Linked DNA regions of Homo sapiens: region 1 is linked to region 2. The links are contacts of gene promoters, found by promoter capture Hi-C in blood cells and fetal thymus (Javierre and others, 2016). All regions are on one chromosome and are shown on one strand. The core of a region is centred on a gene start or on the middle of the fragment in contact, and the rest is flanking DNA. Distances in the headings are between cores, read along the strand shown. Region 1 holds the start of HAPSTR1 (HUWE1 associated protein modifying stress responses). Region 2 holds the start of BFAR (bifunctional apoptosis regulator).

The links. Contacts are between HindIII fragments. The CHiCAGO score rates a contact against its expected background, and 5 or more counts as called.
Region 1: the fragment with the promoter of HAPSTR1 here is called in contact with the fragment with the promoter of BFAR in region 2 in 1 of 17 cell types (fetal thymus); the score reaches 5.5 in fetal thymus.

What each region holds. Positions count from the first base shown.
Region 1 is chr16:9,088,598-9,093,773 of GRCh38, reverse strand. It overlaps HAPSTR1 (HUWE1 associated protein modifying stress responses), which reads right to left and starts at 2,130. Exons shown (of 4, transcript NM_014117.3): 1 at 1,504-2,130; 2 at 773-853. The coding sequence starts at 1,729. RefSeq lists enhancers at 661-830, 3,100-3,965 and silencers at 981-1,480, 1,691-2,030, 2,201-2,270, 3,059-3,189. The HindIII fragment of the contact is 14,700 bases long and covers 234-5,176 here.
Region 2 is chr16:14,630,758-14,636,135 of GRCh38, reverse strand. It overlaps BFAR (bifunctional apoptosis regulator), which reads right to left and starts at 3,185. Exons shown (of 8, transcript NM_016561.3): 1 at 3,118-3,185. RefSeq lists enhancers at 2,603-3,172, 3,173-3,740, 5,340-5,378. The HindIII fragment of the contact is 17,820 bases long and covers 1-3,489 here.

The DNA of each region.
Region 1 (5,176 bases), core at 881-3,380, 5.5 Mb after region 2:
CACAAATGGGCAAGAACGTTTACTTACACATCTTCATGTCATCACAAAGGGAGGGGGATTAACTCCAGAAAGGAACCACCATAAAACAAACCTATGGACTCAAAACTCTCAACAGAATTCCTGCCAGCAACTTATAATCAAATATAGGATCCTTTTAACAGAAAACACTTGATCAAATTGCTAGAGAAGAGCAGCACGTTAACATGCGCGCAGATGACTCCGATTAGCAAGCTTTCAAGCACTTCAAAACTATATAGACTGCCACGCTTTCAAATGCCTAACTCAAGAATCTTTTCCATAAAGTTCGTCCCACTTCCGACTGTAGTACAAAAAACATCAACTCTTATCTTCCCTCAATGTCTTTTCCAGAGGGAGGCAAGGCTCAGCCGTCTTCCAGCTCAACGCTTCTCAACCTGAGCACTACTGACTTTAGGGGCATGATAATTCTTCGCTGAGAGGGGGCCGGGGCGGTTATCTTGGGCACTGCAGGACCTTCAGCAGCCTCTATACACTGGGTGCCCAACAACAGCCCCTTCTAGGAGAAGCCAACCAAAAACGTCCCCAGGCGTTGCCATCTGTCCCGGGGGGCGGAGGGAGGTGTCAAAATCGCCTCCGGTGGATCTAGCTAGAGCACCGCCGCGATTCTCAAGTTGCAAGGTATTCAAGGTTAGCAGCTGGGCTGGGGAGCAGAAAACACACTTGGAACGCAGGGCAGACACCCTGACGCAGGCGGCCCTTCCCTGAATCGGCAATGCAGCAAGGTTATCTTTACCTTTGTAGAGATTGGTGACGGCGGTGGCTGCGTTTTGGAAGGGGACCCAGAGAGAAAGTCCTGGCTGCTGACACACTCGGTCTGAAAAGCAAGCCAAAAAAAAAAAAAACCAAAAAGAAAAAAGAAACACACATAGAAAGAGAAAGAAAGAGAACAAGAATGTTATTTGCGCGTCAATCACTCCGGAACGGCCATATTAGGTTTCGCCATTTTGTTCAGGGGTTTCGGGATCCCAAACCCAGTGTGAGGACCGGGGGGGCAGGGAGGTCGCGGCGGGGAAAAGGGGATGCCGCAGAGCTCAGGGGCACAGATCAGGGACGAGCCGCGGCGCAGGGAAGCGCCCCCCCTGGCAGTCCCCGCCCCGAGGCCGGCTCAGGGCACAATGGGGCCGCCCCGCCGTCTCCCTTCGCCATTTTGTGACGGGGGCTCCTCCTCTCCCGTCTCCGGGCCGAGGGGGACACCGGGTGGCCGGGCCCGGAGAGCGGGGACCCTCGGACCACCCCAAAGCGGGGCTACCCCCACGCCGGCTCTGGCCTGTCCCCCCAACCCCGGGCCTCCCTCCCGCGGCGCCATCTTGCGGGGAGGGGGCGGCAGGGCCGCGGAGCCACCGGCCGGGATCCCCGAGGCCGCCGCCGTCGCGGCCCCCCGAAGCGGCCGCTGAGCCGATAGGGCCGGGGCCGGGCCCGGGCGGGGGCGGCCAAGCGGTACCAAGATGGCGGCGGCGGCCTCACCTTTGTAGAGCTGGGCCACGGCGGTGGCCGAGTTCTGGAAGAGGTGCCACAGCTTCTGCTGCTTGTGCTCGGGCTGCGCGGCGGCCGCCGCCTCCTCCTGCAGCTCGGGGGGCAGCTGCTCGTCCTGTTCGGCCTCGGCCAGGCACTGCCGCTCCCACTTGGAGAACCAGTGCTCGGGCCCGTGCTCCTGGATCTCGGCCTCGCCCTCCTCCTTCCGCTCCTCCATCCTCCGCGGCCTCCCGCGGCCTCGCCGCCACCGCCGCCGCGTCCTCCTCAGGCGGGGCCCCCGCGGGAGCGTCGTCGTCAAGCGGCCCGGCGGCAGGGCCTGGCGACCGACGGCGCCTTCTCCTTTCAGCGGCCCAGGCCTCCTGCACCCCGACGGCCGGCGAGCCCCGCCCCGCGGCCCCGTGCAACCAGGGACGACCCCCGCCCCAGGCCTTCCCACCCCCGGGCCCGGCCGAAGGTCGCCGCGGACCAGATAACCGCTGCCGCCCCTCGCCTCGGCCGCCGCAGCCTGTCTAACGCCCCCCCATGGCGCTGCGGCCTCCCCACTGCCGCCGCCGCCGCTGATCGCCGAGCCCTCCGCGCAGCTCGGCCTGCACCGCGGAGCCCACCCCAAGACTGAGCAACGTCGTCGTCGTCGCCACCGCCGAGGACGGCTCTGCGGCTGCTGGTCCCCGCCCTACCCCGCCCACATGCTGACAGGAGAAGCACCGCCCACTGGGCCCAAGCTACCCTGCCCGGTTGAGGCGTGGCCGCTCCAAGGGCCCCTATTAGTCGGATCCGGCCGGTTCCGCGTGGCGGCTTCTGAGCACAGCGTCGTGATTGGTTCTTCGGCCTGTCTGCCTGACGTAACCAATTGGCTGGGGGAAGGGAGTGAATGTCAGGAAGGATGAAGGAGGAGGAGGGGGAGGAGCTGACAGTGGTTGCGTCCGAGCCAAGGGGGCGGGTGGGGGGTGGAGGGGAAGAGCTAGAAGGGATGCGCATGCGCACTTGCTCGCTGCTCCCCCCCCCGCTCAGGGGCGTTGAGTGGGGATCACGTGACGAGGCCCAGCGACCGCACCCCGCGGGAGCTTTTCCGGCGTGTACAGGCCCTGGGGGGATGCAAAGTCGAGTGCGGCTCCTGTGCCGCGGGCACTGAGAGGTATAGTGGGTGGTAGCGTGCTTACTCCAGCCCCTGGGGCTCCCAAAGGGAGGAGGGTAGTAGAGAAAGTGAATAAAACGCCCAACTCGTGTCCAAGTTTGCAAAGCGCTTTCCTATTCTTTTGAGTACTCCCCCTTTTTTTTTTTTTTTTTTGAGACGGGGTCTTGCTACGTTGTCGAGGTCTAGACTGCTGGCCTCAGGCGATCTTCCAGCCTCCCAGGGCGCTGGGATTACAGGCTTGAGCCACCGCGCCCGGCCCAGAGTCCCATTTCTTAGACGGGCAAATCGACCATCACAGCCAAAGAAAAACTTCCGAGTTGCGAAGTCGGCTCAGTTGCCCCTGCGCCCTGGCGTCCCCCGAGGACGTCGCGCCTTCCGGGTGGACAGGACCTCGGCGGCCGCCCGCGGAGCCAAGGATAACCCGACGGCCGACGGTGCCCGGTGCCCGCACGCGTGCGTCTGCGCCTTTGCGCGCGCGGCGGCCCCCGCACCTGTCCCGAAAAGCACACTCCCAGGCCACGTGCATGCCCCGCGTCACGTACCGGCCCCTGCCTTCCCCGGCCCGAACCCGCGTGGCGGTGCCGAGCGCTGCGCCCGCCCCTACTCCCCCCGCAGTGCGCGATAGCTGGACGCCCCTGCGGCTGCGCGCCCCCCTCCCCTGTCGGGGCTTTCTCCAGGGTCTGAGGCCCCGGAGAAGGCAGCAACGCAGACAGGCGGTGACCGCACAGAGGCAAAACCCACCATCCCCACCTACATGCCCACGGGAGGCACCATCCGGCCTGGAGCGGCGGAGGGCGCCGGCCAGAGGCAGCGTCGCCCGCAGCCTGCGATAGTGCGCTTGCACAGAGCAAGGCGGCTTTGGAAGAAAATCTGACCCCCTCACCGCGGCCTGCAAACCCCTGCAGGATCTGGCCCTGGCGCCTCTCACACAATCCCCTACTTGGCTTGTACCTTGCGCACTCCCCCTCTTCCCCACCTCGCCTGGACGCTCACACACTGGCCTGCCTTATTTCCCTGGGACACTAGGCTCTTTCCTGCCCCAGTCTGCTATCTCTGGAAGCTCTTCCTCCTCCTCTTTCCTCAGATAGCTCCTGTTTAGGAAGCCTACTAGGACAAGCCTAAAGTAGCACCCTTCACACTGTCTCGTATTGCCTGGTTATATTATTTCATAACATCAATCACTATCTAAAATGCTAAATTAGGCCTGGCGCGGTGGCTAAAAAACAGGTTTCCAATTGTAGGGAAGAATATAAAGTGAAAAGCAAACAAAAATCATTCTACCTACCTCATTCTACATCCTCCCAATCCTATTCCCAGGAAATAACTTGTGACCTTTGAAAACGGAGTTATGTGTACGTCGAGTGTGTATGTGTGTGTGTACCTATATACAAGTATGTCCCTTCTTAAGGAAAAAAAAAGATGATTTTATGTGTACTATCCTACAAGCCTTTTTTCCTTAACATAATTTGGATGTCTCCACATTGGGACCTAAAGACTTATTTATTCTTTTAAAATATTGCAAATAATTTCATTGTATGGATTCACTACAAAGTATTTTACAGGGCCCCTATTGATACAAATTTAGATTGTGACCAGTCTTTGGCTATTATAAACAATGCCATAATGAACATCTTGTACATATGTAATACAGTGAACATCCTTGCATATATACATATGTGTATTGAATATATATCCTCAGAAATAGTATTTTAGAGTCACAAGGTATATGAGTTAAATATTTTAGGAGGGTAGGCATGGTAGCTTACACCTATAATCTCAACAATTTAGGAGGCCAAGACGCAAGGATTGCTTGAACTCAAGAGTTCAAGACCAGCCTAGGCGACATAGTGAAACCCAGTCTCTACAAAAAAATACAAAACACAGCCAGGCATGGCGGCACACACGTGTAGTTCCAGCTACTCAGGAGGCTGAGGCGGGAGGATTGCTTGAGCCCAGAAGGCATAGGTTGCAGTGAGCCGAGATAGTGCCACTACACTCCAGCCTGGGTGACAGAGACCCCATCTCAATCAATCAATCAATCAATAAAACTGCCTGCTGAGTGTACGATCAATGGTTGTTGATATGTCAATTTCTACATTTCTGCATTCATGGTAGCACGTGGGAAGTCCAGGCCTGCACATGTAGGTATGACAAAGGAGAGAACACAGCTGGACGATTTCGCTGCCTGCAGGCTCCGCTTCAAAAGCCACACACCACTTTGGACAGTCCAAAGGTTTCGAGTTTTTACAGAATGAAGGCTGCTCTTCTTCTCCTTCATGTAACTCAGACCCTGTTCCAGAAGCCTCTGGCCTTTTCTTGTAAGAACATAATATTTCAGCCATACATACAAGATGGAATGATATTGAATAGCATAAACGCTGGCTCTATAATAAATATTTGTCAGTTGGAAAAAACAGTCTAAAGAAAAAGGAATAAATATTGAAAAGCACCACCTATCTGCTTGATTTCCATGACCCTGAGCTTTGTGTTAACCTCTAAGAGTTTCTTTTTTGTTGTTGTTTCGAGACG
Region 2 (5,378 bases), core at 1,936-4,435:
CCTATTTCTGACACTCCAGGTCCATTCCTGGAGACATCACTATAACTACCAGCAGAATACTACAGAAATTATTAAATATCTAGAGTGCACACCCATTTATAGTGACTACAAAATTAAAACGTGCTCAAATGTAAGCAAGGCAAGGTTCAGGAACCGCAAACAGAACAGACAAAAGCCGGCTCTCCCATTAACATAAGAGAAGCATTAGGCCGGGGCAGTGGCTCATGCCTGTAATCCCACCACTTTGGGAGGCCGAGGCGGGTGGATCAAGAGGTCAGGAGTTCGAGACCAGCCTGGCCAATATGGTGAAACCCCGTATCTACTAAAAATATTAAAATTAGCTGGGTGTGGGACTCCATCTTAAAAAAAAAAAAAGAGAGAGAAGCATTTCCAGTCACTTACTGTATAAAACATTGAGTTTTCAAACTCCAACTAGATTTTTTTTCTGGACAGGGTCAGAAACCAGTGGAGCAAAGGTGACTAGCTCCTCTAGATGCTGACTTGCTGCCTAGACCTTAAAGCCCTGTGATTTATTGCCCTAGGTGGTGTAGGGTAAGACGAAGGCGGGCTGAGAAGGCTATCCTGGCTCTCGCTGGAGCCTGCCCTCTTTCATTTCTCGTGGCATATATGCAAGGACCTATCCTGTACTATACTCTGTAGATGTTCAGTAACTCAGCTATCAAAAACTATGGTTAGTTACCAAGTCAGTAACTCAGATAGCTATAAAAAACTATGGGTAGTTACCAAGTTACACGCACTTTAACTATTGGTTTTTGTTTGTTTTCAATCTTTTATGTCTTTGAGACTGAGTCTCACTCTGTCGCCCAGGCTGGAGTGCAGTGGCACAATCTCGGCTCACTGCAACATCTGCCTCCTGGGTTCCTGCGATTCTTGTTTCTCAGCCTCACAAGTAGCTGGAACTACAGGCGTCCACCACCATGCCCAGCTAATTTTTGTATTTTTAGTAGAGACAGGGTTTCACCATGTATCCCAAGCTGATCTTGAACACCTGAGCTCAAGCAATCTGCCCGCCTTGGCATCCCAAAGTGCAGGGATTACAGGAGTGAGCCACCGTGCCTGGCCTTGGACATTTTTCCTTATCCTCACATTGTTCCCTTCACCTGTAACACAACTTCACAACATCGCTGGGTCAAAAGTATCCAACTGGAAAGACCCAAATCAACTGTCACTTGAAAGTCTTTAATGACTAACTCCTCAACACCCAAATTAATCTTTCTTGTCTCTGTGCATTAGCATAACTTTTATTTGTGTACGTTTTCTCATCTCCTGGATTATAATTTCCTTAGGCTGGTAGAGTTGAAACAGTATGGTCTTAGGAGTGACACTGATCTGGGTTCCAAATCGCGTCACGATTTATTCTTCCTAAACTTCCTATTTCCCACTGATCCGTCTAGGATAATCATGTCAACTTCGAAGGGCTGTTGGGAGGTTTACTTTAAAAAAATTTTTTTAAGAGACAGCGTCTCCCTATGTTGCCTAGGTTGGTCTGGTCTCCTGGGCTCAAGGGATACTCCCACTTCTGCCTCCCAAACTGCTGGGATTACAGGCGTGAGCTGCGGAGCCCCGCCCTGCTGTGAGGTTTAGATGACAAACTATCTACAGGTACTCAAAGTTTGCTGTGTGGGGCTGATCGGCATTATTAACAGAATTATCAATAGCAGCATTTATTGAGTGATGGCTACCTACTTAGTGGCACTGCCAAACGCTGGAACCAAAAAGCAAACAAAAAGAACTGCCCTGGAGAAATACAATGTCTCCATCAAGTTTATGGATATAGGGAAATGCAGAGCACACCTGTCAGGATACACCCAGGCTGGATGTTGAGAAAACAGCAGCGACAAGAACAAACAAAACAACCCCATCAGCACGTGCAGTCCCTGCCGGCTCGGGGGTGTGTCCTGGGAAGAGAGTAAAGCTCTTTCCTATTGGCGATTTGGAGCATGACATCAAGACCACCCCCCTTGCAAAGGACCGACCAATGGGCTTCGGCGGGGAGGACCCAATGGCGACAGTTGAGGGCTTAACAGCGTCTAGGCTCTCACTCTGTTTTCCGCGGAAGCTGGGATGCTGCCTCCTGCCCCTCCAAAGGTCCCCGTTTAGACACAACCTGACTCTCATCTGTCGCCCCCTCCCGCCGGCTTTTTTAATAAAAGACAATTCTCGGCCGGGCGCGGTGGCTCACGCCTGTAATCTCCCCACTTTGGGAGGCCGAGGCGAGTGGGTCACTTGAGGCCAGGAGTTCGAGAACAGTCTGACCAACATGGTGAAACCCCGTCTCTACTAAAAATACAAAAATCAGCCGGGCGTGGTTACGCGGGCCCGTAATCCCAGCTACTCAGAAGGCTGAGGCAAGAGAATCGCTTGAACCTGGGAGGCGGAGGTTGCAGTGAGCCGAGATTGCTCCACCGCACTCCAGCCTGGGCGGCAGGGCAAGACTCCGTCTCTAAAAAGAAAAAAAAGAAAATTCTCTTTTGCCTAAGTTATTTCCGAGCCGCAAGTCGCAGAATCAGAAGAGCCGAGTTCTTGCCTGGCCCCAGTGTGACTTTGGGATTTCACTTTCTCCCTTCTGCGCTTCGGTCACCCTACTTTAAAGAATGGGCACAATCGCTCCGCCTTAGGCCAGGAACGTGCCTCGACAATTAGACCGTAAACTCAGCGTGGCGACTATCAGAAGCCTCATCAATTCTGGTCCGGCTGTTGCAGGGTGTGGCAAGCGCTCCTGGCGGGCAGGCGCCCCGTGGTTCCCCTCCAAGGTGTTTGGAAGCGACCCCTCCTCCTTCCCGCCCTAGGGAGCCCCAGGAGGGAGTGGCTCTGACCCTGACCCCCGAAAGGACGCAGGCGAGGCCCAGCGACCGGCTGTGCGGACGTGGGGCTCTCGGGAAGGGATAGCGCAGTTGGCCAAGCTGGGGTCCGAACCCCGCGGCCAGGAGTGGGGATGCTCAGGACTCGGGCCTGCGTGAGGAGAGGCCCCGCGCGCCTCCTACGACCCGGCTGGGGAGGCTCCGCAGAAGGGATTCCCGCTCCGTCTTCCACATCACTCCCCGATATCAAGCCCGAGTCGCCCCCTCAGCACCCCCCAGCCGTGTCGCGGCTTACCATTCCACTCGTCCCGGGCCAACCGGGCCATTATTCTCAGCACAGACCCCGCGGGAGCAGAGGAAGAGGGAGAGGCTTCGCTACCGGAAGTAACAAGACAGAGTGGGGGAAGCGTGCCCCGGCCCCGTGACCATAGAGGAGAGGCCGCTCTCCTTTCACAACCCCCCTCAACCCCGCGACCTCCCCGCTGCCTAGAGCGGCCACTCCCAGCCGGAGGAAGTGGGCGCATGCGTAATACCGCCGGTCCCGCCCCTTCCTCTTCACCCAGAGACCGAGTACCCGGGCTCGGCAGTCACAGCCCAAGGGGTGACGGGTGTGTGTCAGTTTCCGCTCCTCCTGGGCGGCTGTTCTTGTATCCGGAGGATACAAGCTTTGCCTAGAAATTAAAATATTACAAGGCCGCACCGTACTCTCTACAGTTATTTTTTGCCTTCACATTTTATGTAGAAAATCACAGGACTATACGTTCAATTTACGGTGTTAAGAATCGGAATTAAATGACTTTTATTTCTATTAAAATATTTTTTTTTTCGTAGAGATGGGGTCTCGCTGCGTTTTCCAGGCTGATCTTGAACATATGGCGTCAAGGGATCCTCCTGCCTCAGCCTTACAAAGTGCTGCGATTACAGGCGTGAGCCACCTCGTACAGCTTGAAATGGTTTTCTTATCACCACGTTTCGCCCCTTCCCAGCGTCTAGGTCACAGCGTCTAGAACTTATGCTGATTATTTGGTTTTGTTTTGTTGTTGTTGTTTGTTTTTGAGACAGAGTCTCACTCTCACCCGCCAGGCTGGCGTACAGTGGCACGATCTTGGCTCACTGCAACCTCCGCCTCCCGGGTTCAAGCGATTATCCCACCTCAGCCTCGTGAATAGTTGGGACTACGGGCGTGCACAACCACGCCTGGCTCATTTTAAAATTTCATTTTATTTTTATGGAGACAGGGTCTCGCTCTTTTCCCCAGGCTGGTCTGGAACTCCTGGGTTCAGGCGATTCTCCTGCCTCAGCCCCCGAAAACGCTGGGATTACAGGTGTGAGTCATGGCGCCAGGCCCCCATTAAACAGTTATTTATACAGATTTATTAATACGCTGCTTCCCAGTTCACATTCATTAGCACCACTGAGCCTCAATACAATCCCAGGAAATTGAGGTTTAGGAAGGTTTAATGCATTCCAGAACTAATAAGTGGCTGAGATAGATTTTGAAAATAGGTCTTCTAATCAACTTTCCTTTTGTTCGTTTGTTTGTTTTGGAGACGGAGTCTCGCTCTGTCGCCCAGGTTGGAGTGCAGTGGCACAATCTTGGCTCACTGCAACCTCCGCCTCCCGGGTTCAAGCAGTTCTCCTGCCTCAGCCTCCCGAGTAGCTGGGACTACAGGGGTGCGCCACCACGCCAGGCTAATTCTTTGTATTTTAGTAGAGATGGGGTTTCACCGTGTTGCCCAGGCTGGTCTCGAGCTCCTGGCCTCAAGCAATCCGCCTGCCTCGGCCTCCCAAAGTGCCAGGATCACAGGCGTGAGCCATCGCATCCGGCACTAACCAACTTTTCATAGTTGGCTTTTGTGAAAGACCAACCTGAATGTATTCATTCAACCCATGCTTATTGAGTGTCTACTACGTGTCAGCCCAGTGCTAGGCATTGGAGAACAGCAACCCCAAACCAACATACAATTCCATTAGGGCCGGGCCTCATATGTTGCACTCGACATAGTATTCCCAGAGGCTAATGCAGTAGCTAAGGGTCTCAGCTTTGCTTTCCGTGATCACCTAAGTAACAACCCCTATTATTCTTTTAATTTAATTTAATTTTTTTTTTGAAAACAAGTCTCGTTCTGTCACCCAGGCTGGAGTGCAGTGGCGTGATCTCGGTTCACAGCAACCTCCGCCTCCCAGGTTCAAGAGATTCTCCTGCCTCAGCTTCCCGAATAGCTGGGATTACAGGCGCGCACCACTGCACCCGGCTAATTTTTTGTATTTTTAATAGAGACAGGGTTTCACCATGTTGGCCAGGCTGCTCTTGAACTTCTGACCTCAGGTAATCCGCCCGCTTCTGCCTCCCAAATCGCTAGGATTACAGGCATGAGTCACCAAGCCCAGCCAATTTTTATATTTTTAGTAGAGACAGGGTTTCACTATGTTGGCCAGGCTGGTCTCGAACTCCTGATCTCGTGATCCGCCCGCCTCGGCCTTCCAAAGTGCTGGGATTACAGGCATAAGCCACCGGGTCCGGCCTAATTTTATTTTTTTAAGAGACAGGTCTCA